Linked DNA regions of Homo sapiens: region 2 is linked to region 1. Evidence: promoter capture Hi-C in human tissues and cell types (Jung and others, 2019). All regions are on one chromosome and are shown on one strand. The core of a region is centred on a gene start or on the middle of the fragment in contact, and the rest is flanking DNA. Distances in the headings are between cores, read along the strand shown. Region 1 holds the start of ARNT2 (aryl hydrocarbon receptor nuclear translocator 2). Region 2 holds the start of TMED3 (transmembrane p24 trafficking protein 3).

Evidence for each region. The method cuts DNA at HindIII sites, captures the fragments that hold promoters and counts their contacts. A contact is called where the count stands out against the background at its distance.
Region 2: a fragment that was not itself captured here is called in contact with the fragment with the promoter of ARNT2 in region 1 in 1 of the 25 tissues and cell types used here (mesenchymal stem cells).

The regions. Positions count from the first base shown.
Region 1 is chr15:80,402,131-80,408,372 of GRCh38, reverse strand. ARNT2 (aryl hydrocarbon receptor nuclear translocator 2) reads right to left here and starts at 3,991. Exons shown (of 19, transcript NM_014862.4): 1 at 3,827-3,991. The coding sequence starts at 3,857. It overlaps ARNT2-DT (ARNT2 divergent transcript), which reads left to right and starts at 4,177. Exons shown (of 6, transcript NR_184070.1): 1 at 4,177-4,382; 2 at 4,788-4,871. RefSeq lists an enhancer at 4,060-4,560. The HindIII fragment of the contact is 10,967 bases long and covers 1-6,242 here.
Region 2 is chr15:79,305,190-79,311,431 of GRCh38, reverse strand. It overlaps TMED3 (transmembrane p24 trafficking protein 3), which reads right to left and starts at 320. Exons shown (of 3, transcript NM_007364.4): 1 at 15-320. The coding sequence starts at 182. RefSeq lists silencers at 147-216, 427-476. The HindIII fragment of the contact is 4,061 bases long and covers 1,925-5,985 here.

The DNA.
Region 1 (6,242 bases), core at 2,742-5,241:
TATGAACATGCCTAGTCAACGTTCATTTCATTCCACCTGGTGTTATTAAGTTAGTCTACCTATGCCTCCCCTAGTAGACTTAGAACCCCCTGAGGTCAAGAAATATTCTCCCTCATCTCCACATTGCTCTATTCCCTGCAGACAGCTTGGCATATCAAAGATATCCAATCAGTTCAACAAGCTGATTCAAATGTCCCTCCATCTAAGGCAATTTGTCCAGAGAATCTTCCTGCACTATACAATTAATTCCAAATTGAAATGCCAAAGACCAGAAACCTGGAAGTGGGGAAAAAATCCAATAATTGATTTCAGAAAAAAAAGTGGAATTCCAAATCTCTTAAAACATAATTTTGAAATCCTTTAAAACATATGAGCCTTATTAATTACTCTGCAAATACTCATCTCAGAGAATGTCCACATAATGCTTAATTCCTAATGATTACTGGTCTGAATTTGTAGCTGATTCCCTCATGCTTAAATTACAAAAGATTAAGATGGAACAATGACATTGGGGAAACAATCTCCTTCTTAATTGTGCCATTTCAGCTGCAAATACCCTTTTATGTATATAACTAATTCAAATCTTCACTATTTCCTATACATCAGAAACACTTAAATGTCATTCAAAAAGGCAGCAAAACAACACACACACACACACACACAGACACACAAAACGGAAGATTCTATGACTTCACTCTCTAGTCTAAAGGATATATGTCATTCCTGGCCAGAGAGAAAAGAGAAAATCAGCCAATACAACAGTTTCAGTGACCAACGTAAGGACTGTAAATGACCCAGAAGGAGGAGGCACCAGGGGCCACAGGATATGAGGAATATAACCAGGACTGTCATAGCAGAAGTCATGAGGAGAATATCTGGGAGCCCAATCCTTTCTTCTCCTCTCCCAGAGTAGCTGGTAGAATCCTAACCTAAAACCCCAACAGGGGACCTTGAAGGAGCAGATTCCAAATTTGGACCTGTATTATATCCACAGAGTAACATGAGTAACATGAGCGTGAAGACCCCAACATCACCGGTCACCAACAAGACCCTAGAGAATCCCCACTACACATCACAGAAGAGTGTCATTGTAAATGGTTCTGCTGTTGTGAAGTGGTCAGCTGGGAAAAAAGGAACAAGTGGGGGCGTGGGGAGGTGACTGGCTGTGGCCTTTGTACCCTGGACACGAACTAGCAGCAGAAATAAATCCTGGTGCTTCCCCATCCATTTGGTTCTGTTTACCAAGCTCTTATTCTTTGCAAAGCAACCATATCTGGGGAAAGGAGGCAGGAAGAAAAAGGAATTCAAAGAAGTCTCACAAGCCCATGTGAGGTAGGCTCTGGGTGACAAGCTTGGGTACCATGGCTCTTTTTGTTGTAAATTGCCCATAGAATCTGAACTCTCTCTCTTTGGCTCAAACCCTGAGCCATGTCCCTTAAAATTAAACCCTTTCTCCCAAAGAAAAAGATGGAGATTCACATGGGGCAATAATAACACATCCCCACGGATCATCCTCAGGGGACCAGTAAAAGAAATGATGGTAAAAGGAAAGGTGATCACCTCAAGGAATTTTCCCTTGAGAAATTATCACCATGCTGAAGATCTCTGGTATAGCTGTCAACAGAGAAAAGCATCTGTCAAGCTGGCCAGGTGTTGACTAGCAACGCCAACAATACCCTATGCTTGTACCATTCAAGTCTCCCGCAGTCCAAGGCACAGGCACAGGCTTTCCTGTGCTTCACACCACGGGGCCAGGGGCAGTTACTCCATCTTTAGATCTTTAGTCCATGTAGCTCATGGAGCAATGTAATGGACAAAAAAGTTTTAAACAATGATGTCCTGGCATAGAAATTATGTAAATCACCAGGGATTTTATTCCTGTTCCCAGTGTATATTGGACTAAAATGTTTTCATTTAACATCTTTTGCTTTTTCTAATTTCATAACATTTACATCTATCAATTTTCCATTGATTTTGAAGTAGTTGAATGGGTTGAAATTGCAGCTTCAGTCACAGGCAAACTGGCACAGATTTGTTTTCAGACCAGCCACGTTCCTCCTCAGTGTTCTGGACAGAGGCCTCCTTGTCTGTTCTTCCAAGAGTCCCTATTTCTGCTGATGGAACTGCCTTCCTTGGAATTACACAGGCTCTTCACCTTGGTGTCTCCATGGACACCTCCCCTTTGTCTCTCCTTGGCCTCCTCCTTTACTCTTACTCCAAATCTAATCAGTGCCAAATCTGGAACTCTTCTACCCGCCCAGTGGTGCATTCCTTCCTCTCTGGTCCAGCCATGGCCACCAATTCTGGCCTCCCCAGCACCTGCCTCATTTCATGCTGGCCTCCCTGTCTCAAGTCTTGTTCCCTCCTTAGAATGTTTCCTAGACATAGCTGACAAATCAGTCTTCCAGAAAAAGTGATCATGCGATTTCCTTGTTCAATACCATTGAGGTCTCTCTCTCTCTCTCTCTGTCTCTCTCTCTCTTTTCTATTTTATTTTATTTTTCTGGTTCTTAGGAAGTGTGCAGAGGACTCTCCCTTAATGTGGAGAGAGAAAGTCCATACTCCTCAGTCTGTCCTTTAAAGCCTGGTCACATCCAAACAACTCAGTGTTAAATCCCACTGCTGCCTCTTATATCCCCAGTGCACCAACTACTCACTGACCTCTGCACTTGCTTAGAGCAAGTCCACTGTTACTTACGCCTGCAATGCCCCTCTGCTACTGGCTCTGTATATTCAAACATTCCCGTTTTCAAGGTTCAGCCGAAATGTCCAATCTCCAGAAGCCTTCCCTGGCCGCCTTAGATGAAAGGGATCTTTCATTCCTAATTCTATGATGAGAGACACTTTTCTTTGCTAGGCATTGCTGTTCCTCCCCCGACCCTCCCTATCTCCAACACATGACCTCCCTCTGCTGGGAATTTCCTGGGGGCCGCCCTCTGTGACTCTCCCTGCATCTTCCACAGGGACCCAGCAACCTGCCGTGCCCACAGCAGCCTCTGCACAACACCCAAAAGTTTGTACTAGCTTAGATGTTCACGTTTCTCTTCTCCCACACCCTGCTCATCAGGTAGGGAACTTTCCCAGTGAAAACGGAACTTCCCTACTACAATACCAAAACAAGTCAATGTTGCCACTTGATCAAGAACTCTTCCATTTTTGAAATATTTCCTAATGAGCTCAGTTGTCACAGACTGCACCCTGGGGACAGGTCAGACCAGAAAGCAGAGGATGTCACCTGGGCAGGACCAGGGCTGCTCCACGCTGGTGACCACAGGCTGGGTGTTTTGTGCCCCCGGAGGGTTAGGACACACAGCAGCCAGTCGCAAAGGGCGCAAAGGACCAGCGCTTAGTGGGCGGGGCGGGCAGGGGAGAGTCCCGGGAGTTGTACCCTGTTGAATCCCAGCTCCAAACTTTTCCCTCCGTCAGCGCGGAGCCCTCCACCAGCCAGGACTGGCTGACGCCGTGATGCCACAAAAGCCGGGACCGGAAGAGAAAAATGCGTGGGATGGGGAAGGCAAAGGCGGTTATTTTCAGAACTTCGGGGGCTCCCGGGCCTGCCCTTCGGGTTCCCGAGGATGCGAGGCCAGCGTCCGGCCGCCCGCGGGTCCGGACCGGCGCCTGCCCGGGACCGGATGGGCAGCGATTGGGATGCAGATGCCGCTCTGGTGCTGATGCTGCGGCTGCCGCGTAGTGACAGCCGCTCCACCACCCACCGCGCCGAGCTGCGGCTCCGCGCCCCCGGGGGCGCCCGGCGCGCCTGGTCCGCTCCGGCCCCGGGCAAGGCCTGCGGGCTGCGGCGGGCGGCGGGGCCCAGGCCGCTACTCACCCGGAGGGTTGACCGCCGCCGGGGTTGCCATCTTGCTCGGAGAGGATAGGCGCCCGCTTGGCAGGGGCGCGGGAGGGGCGGCGCGGAGCCCGGCGCTCAGCCCCGGGGACCCGGTCAGGCCCAGGCGCCGCCGCCGCCACACAAAGGACGGCGCGGGCGGGCGGCGCTCCCTCCGCTCTCCCCGCCGCCGCGGCCGCTCGCCGTCCCCGCCTTTCTCTCCTCCTCCTCCCCCTCCTCGGCCTCCTCCTCCCGGTTCAGCCTTTGTCGCGCGGCGGGGGGCGCCCGGCCCGCGGCTCCCCGGTCAGAGCGGTAGCACCGCGAGACTTGGGGCTGCGGACGGCGGGACCCCCAAGTTGGGCGCCGGCGACTGGCGGGGGCAGAGGGCCGGGCGCTCCCTCGGGCTCGCGCAGGTGCTCGGGCCTGGCCGGGCTGGGACCGCAGGCGCCTCTCCCGCGCTCGCCTAGCCCGGGCTGCCCCCGCACGCCCACGCCCCAGGTGTCCGGGCGCGCTTTACCCAGGGGCGCCGTGCCCAGGCCAGGAGGCCAGGGCGGAGCGGGTGAGGGAGAAGCCCATTTAGATTCAGAGGGAAGCCGGTCCTGGGAGACGGCCGCGAGGAACAAAGGCGCCCCAGTGCTGCCCACTTAGCATGCCAGAGCCGCGCTGCTCGGCTCCCAGGCCGGGGACACGGCCCGGTGTTAAGCGGAGGGTGCCCGACCGCGGGAATTCCTAAGGCCACGCGCACCTCCAAGGCCACCGCCGCACACAGCTTCGGAGTGCACAGTGCACACGCCCAGGCACAGGCAGCCGGCCCGAGAAATTGTGAATGTCTTGGCTTTGAGTAAGGCGCTCATCTCTACCCTCCTTCCATAATGACTGCCGTTGATTATTACTTGAGGGCGCTGCAAGGGCCTTATTTACACCACCAAGTTGAGAATTTAAAAAGATTTTTTTTTTTAAATAGGTTTATCTGCGTATCCTGGCGAAGTTTGGATGCAGAGAACTTGGAGCTGTTGTTTTCTACCAGACACTAGGATCCCTGAGAGAGGTAATGGCCCCTAGGAAGGACACGTCACCATCGGGGTCCCCTGTAAAGGTTAAATGGAAGAATAAAGACATCCCAGGTGAACGCTGAGAAGGGCAAGTTGGTCCCTAAACGCAGATAATGTTTGCAGAGACATCAAACTGTCTTAAATCCTTCCAAGGAAGCATTTTCTGGAGGGCAGAAAATTTGGGATGTATGTTCAAATAAGCATTTTCTTCGGGGAGTATTTGTCACTACTAATCTAATAGTCTATCAGTTCTACAAATGTTGAATGTCTGCTGTGTGCCAGGCACAAAGCCAGGTGTTGGGCCTACCATGGAAAGGAAGAAACAGGAGCTCTGTTCTTCTGGTTTGGGGGGTAGAGTGGGGAAGAGTGAAACAAAGTATCTGCACTCAAGAAGCACACAGCTCCCTTGGGGGCTTAGGGCAGAAGCCCTGAAATTGGCATCTCCAGCCTGTAGTCACTAATGAATGAATGAGGGCAGAGAGGAGGTGGAGTGATCAGGGAAAATGAAAATTAGGCTTTGAAGACATGAGTAGGACAGGTGGAAAAAGAAGACATTTCAAGTAAAAAATAAAGCAGGTGTGCACCCAGCCACAAGATAGGCCAGGCCCAGACAGAGAAACCAGGGTATCAGCTATGGCCCGCTCTTGTGCCCCGTATCAAAGTTGACTGTTCCTGATTCCAACATCAAGCCAAATGAGAATTCAGCCTCTCTTCTACATACCCCGAAAAGCAACACACTCAAAATACCAACTTAATTAATGTATAACGTATACTGGACTGAAGATTTCTTAAGGAAAGTAAAAGAGGAGGCTCTCTTCACTCACTCCACATCAAAAAAGGTAAAACTCCATCTCAGATATTTCTGCTACCCAGAGTCCCTTCTGGATCCTTCTCCCCACAGGCAGTTCAATCTCTGGTGGCCCATAAATAGCCCATAAATAGCACTTGGCATCACTGCCCCCTATCCCACGAGGCTCTTTTATTCTCCAACTTTCCACACCCCTTAGAAGGAAGCAAGTTCCTCTCCTTGGTGTTTATGTATCAGTTTAGCATTTCAGCCAGGACCCATGGCTCATTTTGTCTCCAAATACAGTTCTAATATCATCCCTAAAAAATAAAATATGAGTGAACATGACTCTTACGCACACACACATTTAACCATACAAATTTGTTGACAAGTTTTACTTTCTTACTCTGCTGTTGTGTTCTGCCCATTTTTCTAAATGTTACTCGGCTGATATCTTTAAAACTGGATCTTGCTCAAGCTTCCTACTTCTTGCACTGGTCCATTGCAATAAAAGACAGGCGACACGTGGACAACTGCTAGACACTTCCCAAGTCTGGAGTCGGCCGTGCTGTGGTTTTTG
Region 2 (6,242 bases), core at 2,706-5,205, 1.1 Mb after region 1:
GCGCCCGGCCTCACCTGGTAATCCAGGGAGAACTTCACGCCCTGCTCCACCTCCTCGTGGAAGCACTGCTTGGCGTTGTCCGGCAGCTCGAAGGTGAGCTCGGCCCCGCAGGGCTGCTCGGCCCGGCGCAGGAGCAGCAGCAGAAGCAGCACGGAGGCGGAGCGCGGGACAGTGCTGCCCATGATGCTCTCGGTCCCGTCTCGAGGGCCGCGGCTCGGGCGCTGCGCCCCCGGCGGGCTGGGGCGACGACTACCGACCGGGTCCTAGGAGGATGTAAGGGGATAGACGTGGCACCAGCGGAGCTCTGCGCTTCCGGGAGGGCCGGCGGCTCAGTGCGCAGCCGCGCGCTCAAAGTGGGCCCGGGCACCTTCCGCCCGCTGCGCGTGCGCGCTGGCCGCGCTGCGCCAGGGGACACGCCCCCCCCACCCCCCCGCAACGCCTCTCCCGGCTCGGAGGGTGGGTCTCCGCGGAGGGGAGGTGGGGCTCCACCTAGCGCGCCCCTACCCAGAAGAGGGAGAAGCCCTCCCCGCTGTTCTGCGCGCTCCCGGACCCGCAGGGCTGAGCATCCCCCCAGGTCGACCCAGGTCCACCCTCCAGCTGCTGCAGCACGAAGCACGTGGGATTTTACTCCCTCTATAAGGCTCCGCTTTTGACAGGCTCTGTAACTTCAGTCTCACACTTCCCTCGAGAACCAGTCTCCTTGTCTTGAAATGGGTGTGCCCAAACCTAACATCCACAGTAGTTAGGGAGCTAGGTGAAAGATAAGGGAACGCTGGGAACCCGATTAACACTCCTTTCTTCATTCCCATACCCTTCCCAAGGTGAAAGAGTGTGCGAAGGGGGTGGGGAGTGGGGAGAGTAAGTAAAGACCCATCATTACACCTGCTCTGGGAAAAACACGAGCGTGCTCACACACAAACGATCTCATGAAAATCCAAGTAAAGTCTCGCAGCGACTTCAGGTATATTTTGGCTGTCAGGCTCGTTGAAAATTCTTTTTGCACAAAACTGTCATTTTTGCACTTTGACTTCTTAAAAGCTCTGAAAGCAGATAAATTGGTTTACTGTCTTACCCATGACCACTGACTTAAGATTCTTTTGTATAATCGTAACTATAGGTATAGTTTTATATTCACTGTGATCCAATAAACAAAGAGAAAAGACGTAGATTGTGATGTCGATACTCAATAAATAACTTATTCAGGAGAGCATTACTAGACGTGGTATATCTTGACTTCAGGAAAGAATGTTACTGCCCATATAGATTTCCGCTGGCCACATTCACTATGGATGAACACGCTAATGTGTGAAAGCAATCTGTAGGCTTGGAAATAACATGCATGCATAACATAGTTAATAATATTGACTGGCTCAGTGACAGGCATGGAAGAGGTGTTTAGTAGTGTCCCTTAAGCTTCCTTCCCTGGCACGGTCCTATTTCACGTTTTTTTTTTTTTTAGGAACTGATAGAAAACATGGAAGTAATAATCATCTGATCTAGATGAACTAAGTGGAGAAATAAATGACAGATATAAAACCACAATTGGCCGGGAGTGGTGGCTCACGCCTGTAATCCCAGCACTTTGGGAGGCTGAGGCGGGTGGATCACGAGGTCAAGAGATCGAGATCATCCTGGCCAATGTGGTGAAACCCCTTCTCGACTAAAAATACAAAAATTAGCTGGGGGTGGTGGTGCGTGCCTGTAGTCCCAGCTACTCGGGAGGCTGAGGCAGGGAGGCAGGGGTATTGCTTGAACCTGGGAGGTGGAGTTTGCAACCTGGCGACAGAGCAAGACTGCGTCTCAAAAAAACAAAACAAACAAACAAAAAAAAAACACGATTGCCCTGGCACAGGTGGAGTGCTCTGCTAAGACTAACAAAAAGAAATTTCGGGCTGGGCACCATAGCTCATGCCTGTATCCCAGTATTTGGGGAGGCTGAGGCAGGAGGATTGTTTGAAGCCAGGAGTTCGAATCTAGCCTGGGCAACATAGTGAAACCTCGTTTCTACAAAAACAAACAAACAAAAATTAACCAGGCATGGTGGTGTGGGTCTGTAGTCCCAGCTACTTGGGATGCTGAGGTGGGAGGATTGCTTGACACCAGGTGTCTGAGGCTACAGTGAACTGTGATTGCACTACTGCACTCCAGCATGGATGACAAAGGGAGACCCCATCTCTAAAAATCAAAATAAATTCCTCCGGATTAAATGTTAAGTCTTACATTTAAGTTCCAAGAAAACACCTGCATAAGTTCAGGGGAGGAGCTGACATTGAAGAAGCTCTAGTCAGAGCATGCAGGCTGTTGGCTGGGACACCTCGGTTCTCCTCCAAGCATCCTCTTACATCTAATAGGCTAGATTACTTCCTTATATGGCAGGTTCAGGGCAGCATCCCAAGAGGAACTAGGCAGAAGGAGCAAGGCCCCTGAGACCTAAGCTTCAGACCTTTTCCAGTATGACTTTCTCCACATTCTGTTGACCAAAGCAAGTTCAAAGGCCAGCCCAGATTCAAGGAGGTGGAAAAATGGAATCTACCTCTGGATTTGAGGAGTTGCAAAGTCACATTGCAAAGGAGGGTCATACTGGGATGGAAGGAATTATGGCTGTTAAGCCATCTTCTATAGTATCCAGACTCACTCAGCTTGTCAATGGCTAAGCCAGAAAGTGAACCCAGATCTGCTTAATTCTGAAGACTACCAGCTTCCCACTAAACACACTGCCTCTACCCATACCTCAGGGAACACTTGTCCTACATGTTCCATAGGGCAAACCTTGGACCAAAGCATGAATCTGACACTGAGGCACATTTCAGCTCACACAATAAATGATTTTCTGGAACCAGAGATTTCCAAAAATAGAATGGACAAGGATAGTACATTTTTCATACCCGAAAATATTCGAACAGATGCAGGTGAACAACCAACCACTTAGCAACAACAGAGATGATTCATGAGCCTGGGTGACAGATAATAGTGGTGTATGACCTCTACGGTTCCTTCCAACCTTGATATTGCATGATATATGGCAAATATTGCGTGATATATGGTACTAAAGGTAGGATAACTTGAAAGAAAAACCAAAAATGTTTTCTATCCACTTTAGTCCTGGGGTGACTTCTGTAAAGTCCTTTTAAAACAGTAAATAAAAGAAACACACACATAAAAATAGTAAATAATAAATATTAAAACAGTAAATAAAAATGAGGATCTTAACAGATGCAGGAAAAAAAGCATGTGACAAATTCAACATCCATTCATGATAAAAACTCTTAGCAAAACAGAAATAATAGACAACTTCCTTAATGTCATAAAATGTAACAAATTTAGAGCAGACATCATGATTAATGATAAACATGTCTTTTCCTTCAAATTTGGGAATAAGACATAAATGCCTGCTATCACAACTGCTATTTAACATTGTCCCAGAAATTCTAGCAGGAAAGGTTAGGCAAGAAAAAGAAATAAAAGGACAAGAATTGGATATATAAACATCCAAATAGTGCTTATATCTAAGGGGAAGGAAAATGCAGAAGTCCAGAAGGGGCACCCAAGAGAGACTCATGAATGTTCACATTCTGACTTTCATTAACTGAACACTTAGGTTTTACTTCTCTAAGTATGTACAGATGCTCCTCGGCTTACAATGGGGTTATGTCTGAATAAACCTATCATGAATTGAAAACATCGTAAGTTACGTGTGTTATGATGAGATGGGCAGTATAAGGTGGACCCATCTGTGCCCTAAAGCAGAACTTTATCATTGCTTCATGCAACAGGAGCACTCCCTAGCATGCTATTAGTATGTTGAAACAAAATCAAAGTTTATCCATGCCTCATGCAGGTAATTGATGGTGAAGGAAAAAAGCAACACAATCGCTGTGTGGATTGACTAAAGCAAATGGAAACTTTGCAAACCGCTTAACGTTGCCATGGAGCTATAACCAATACCAGCTTTTCCCTGAACAAACCAGTCAGAGACAGGTGACACACACTGCCCTCCTGAGACTCACAAACTTCCCCAGAACAACTGTTTCTGTGGCTGTCAAGCATTTAACTATCCTTCCTATGGGTAAATCCCAAACTAGGTGAGAAACCAGCCTCCCTCTCATCACAGAGCAAAAGAGGGGCAGATAGTCCCTCTCCCTCTGCTCCCGGGTCCCAAGGTATGTGGGCATGGGATCCAGGCTCTGCCAACTGGGTGCCCTTGTATCTGACTCGGGGGGGCGGGTGTCTAGAGAGGTAGAAGCAGAGAGTATAATGGTGGTTACCAGGGGCTAGGGGGTGGGGGGCTTGGGGAAATGGCCAATGATTACAAAATTTCAGTTAGATAAGAGGAATAAATTCAAGAGATCTATTGTACAACATGGCATCTATGGTTAATAATGTAGTCTATACTTGAAAATCACTGAGAGTACCTTTTAAGTGTTCTTGCCACAAAAAAAATGATATATGCAGTAATATATATGTTAATTACCTCAATGTAGCCTTTCTACAATGTATGCATATTTTAAAACATTATGTTGTATACTTCAAATATACATAATTTTTATGTGAATTAAACAAACAAATTTAAATTTGAAAAAGAAGAAGAATGCTTCAATCTTTAAGCTTTGGACAGGAAAATATTGTGACTAAATGACTACAGAATGATCTTTAAAAATTGAAAAGCTTTTTGCAATTCACACATTATGTTGGATTCATGGAAATGACTCATATTCTCCCTTGAGTGTGAGGTAAAGAAACATTAATATCTTAAATATAGGAAGAGAATAATCCATGTGCCCACTCACCATGCATGAATTATATTTTCCTAGTGCTAAAAATTCAAACTTCTTCTTACCCCATTGGGTCTTTGTTTCTATATAAATAAGTATAATTTATTCTGCTTTTAAAAAGAGAAAAAGAAAAAAACATCATATAACTTATTATCTTTGCTGTAACATGGTGGAATGGAAAGATAATGAAATTCAAGACCCAAAACCCTGGCATTAATGTTTTGACATTCTGTCCTTGTCTGGGAGTCCACGTCTGAAACTTTAAAATAGAGGTTGAGGTTGGGGATTGGGTGAGTTGATGCCAAAGGTTTTCTTCTTCCAATTATCAAGACTTTTAATAATTTCAAACAGTGAGCTTGGGCTTCTTTTCTTCAATTTAAAAGAAAAACATAAAGAAAATAAGAAAAATTAAGGGAGGAAGGGAAGAAGGGAGGGAGAAAGAATGGAAGGGAGGAAGGGAAGGCAAGGAAAGGAAGAGTAGCCTCATACAGTCTATGTATTAGTGAGGATAAGATATTCTGCAGTAAAAATCAACCCCCAGATTAAAGAGAGAGCTGTTTTCCTTTCTCTTTCTTTCTTTTTCTTTTCCCTATTAAACCTCCACTCCTAAACTCCTAAACTCCTAAAAAAAAAAAAATCAACCCCCAAATATCAGGACTCAGCAAAAGTTTATTTCTTATCCCTTCTATGTTTTTCACAGGTTCAAAGGCAGAGATCTCTTCCATGTAGTCCTTCAGGGAACCTGACTGACAGAGATCCCCATAATCTTGAAATTGTTTCACCTGAAACACACTTCTCCTCCGCCACAGCAACAGGGGAAGAGAATGTGAGAAGATCTCTTATCAGCAATTACATGCATCAGCTTAGAAGAGACACACACATTGCTTTCACTCGTAACCTATCATCTTGAATTGATCTCATGGCCCTACTAAATCCCAAGGTGAATGAGATTTGTCTTCCATGTGTCCAGAAGGAGAGGAAAACTGAATGGTGGTGAATACTGGTTCTGTTTGCCACATCACGGTAAAACGAGTAATAATAAAGACATAAAAAAGACTTGCAGTTTCTGGTAAAGACAAGTTAGATTATTTGAACATAAATTTCCCCTAAAAACAACTAAAAATACAACTTTAAAAATGTTTTCTGGGAGGCATCAAAAAGCTGGCAAGAGAGTAAAGAATTACCCCGCCAAAATTGAAGGGAAAACAATAATCTAGAAAGAGAAGCATTCTCAAAAGTTACTTTTCCCATGAGGGCATTGGCCAATCCTGAACATTTTTGAATTTTCATTTTTTACAGTCTCACAGGGAGAGTGGACAAAAACCAGAGCCTTAAGGAAGTTGAGGGCTCATCATTTCACTTTCCTGCTCAGAAACTGTTACCGTCACTTGCTACATTAAATTCAAACTCCTGCCTTCACAGAAACAGCACATCCTCTCTCATCCTGACCATTTCAACTCATCCCAACCA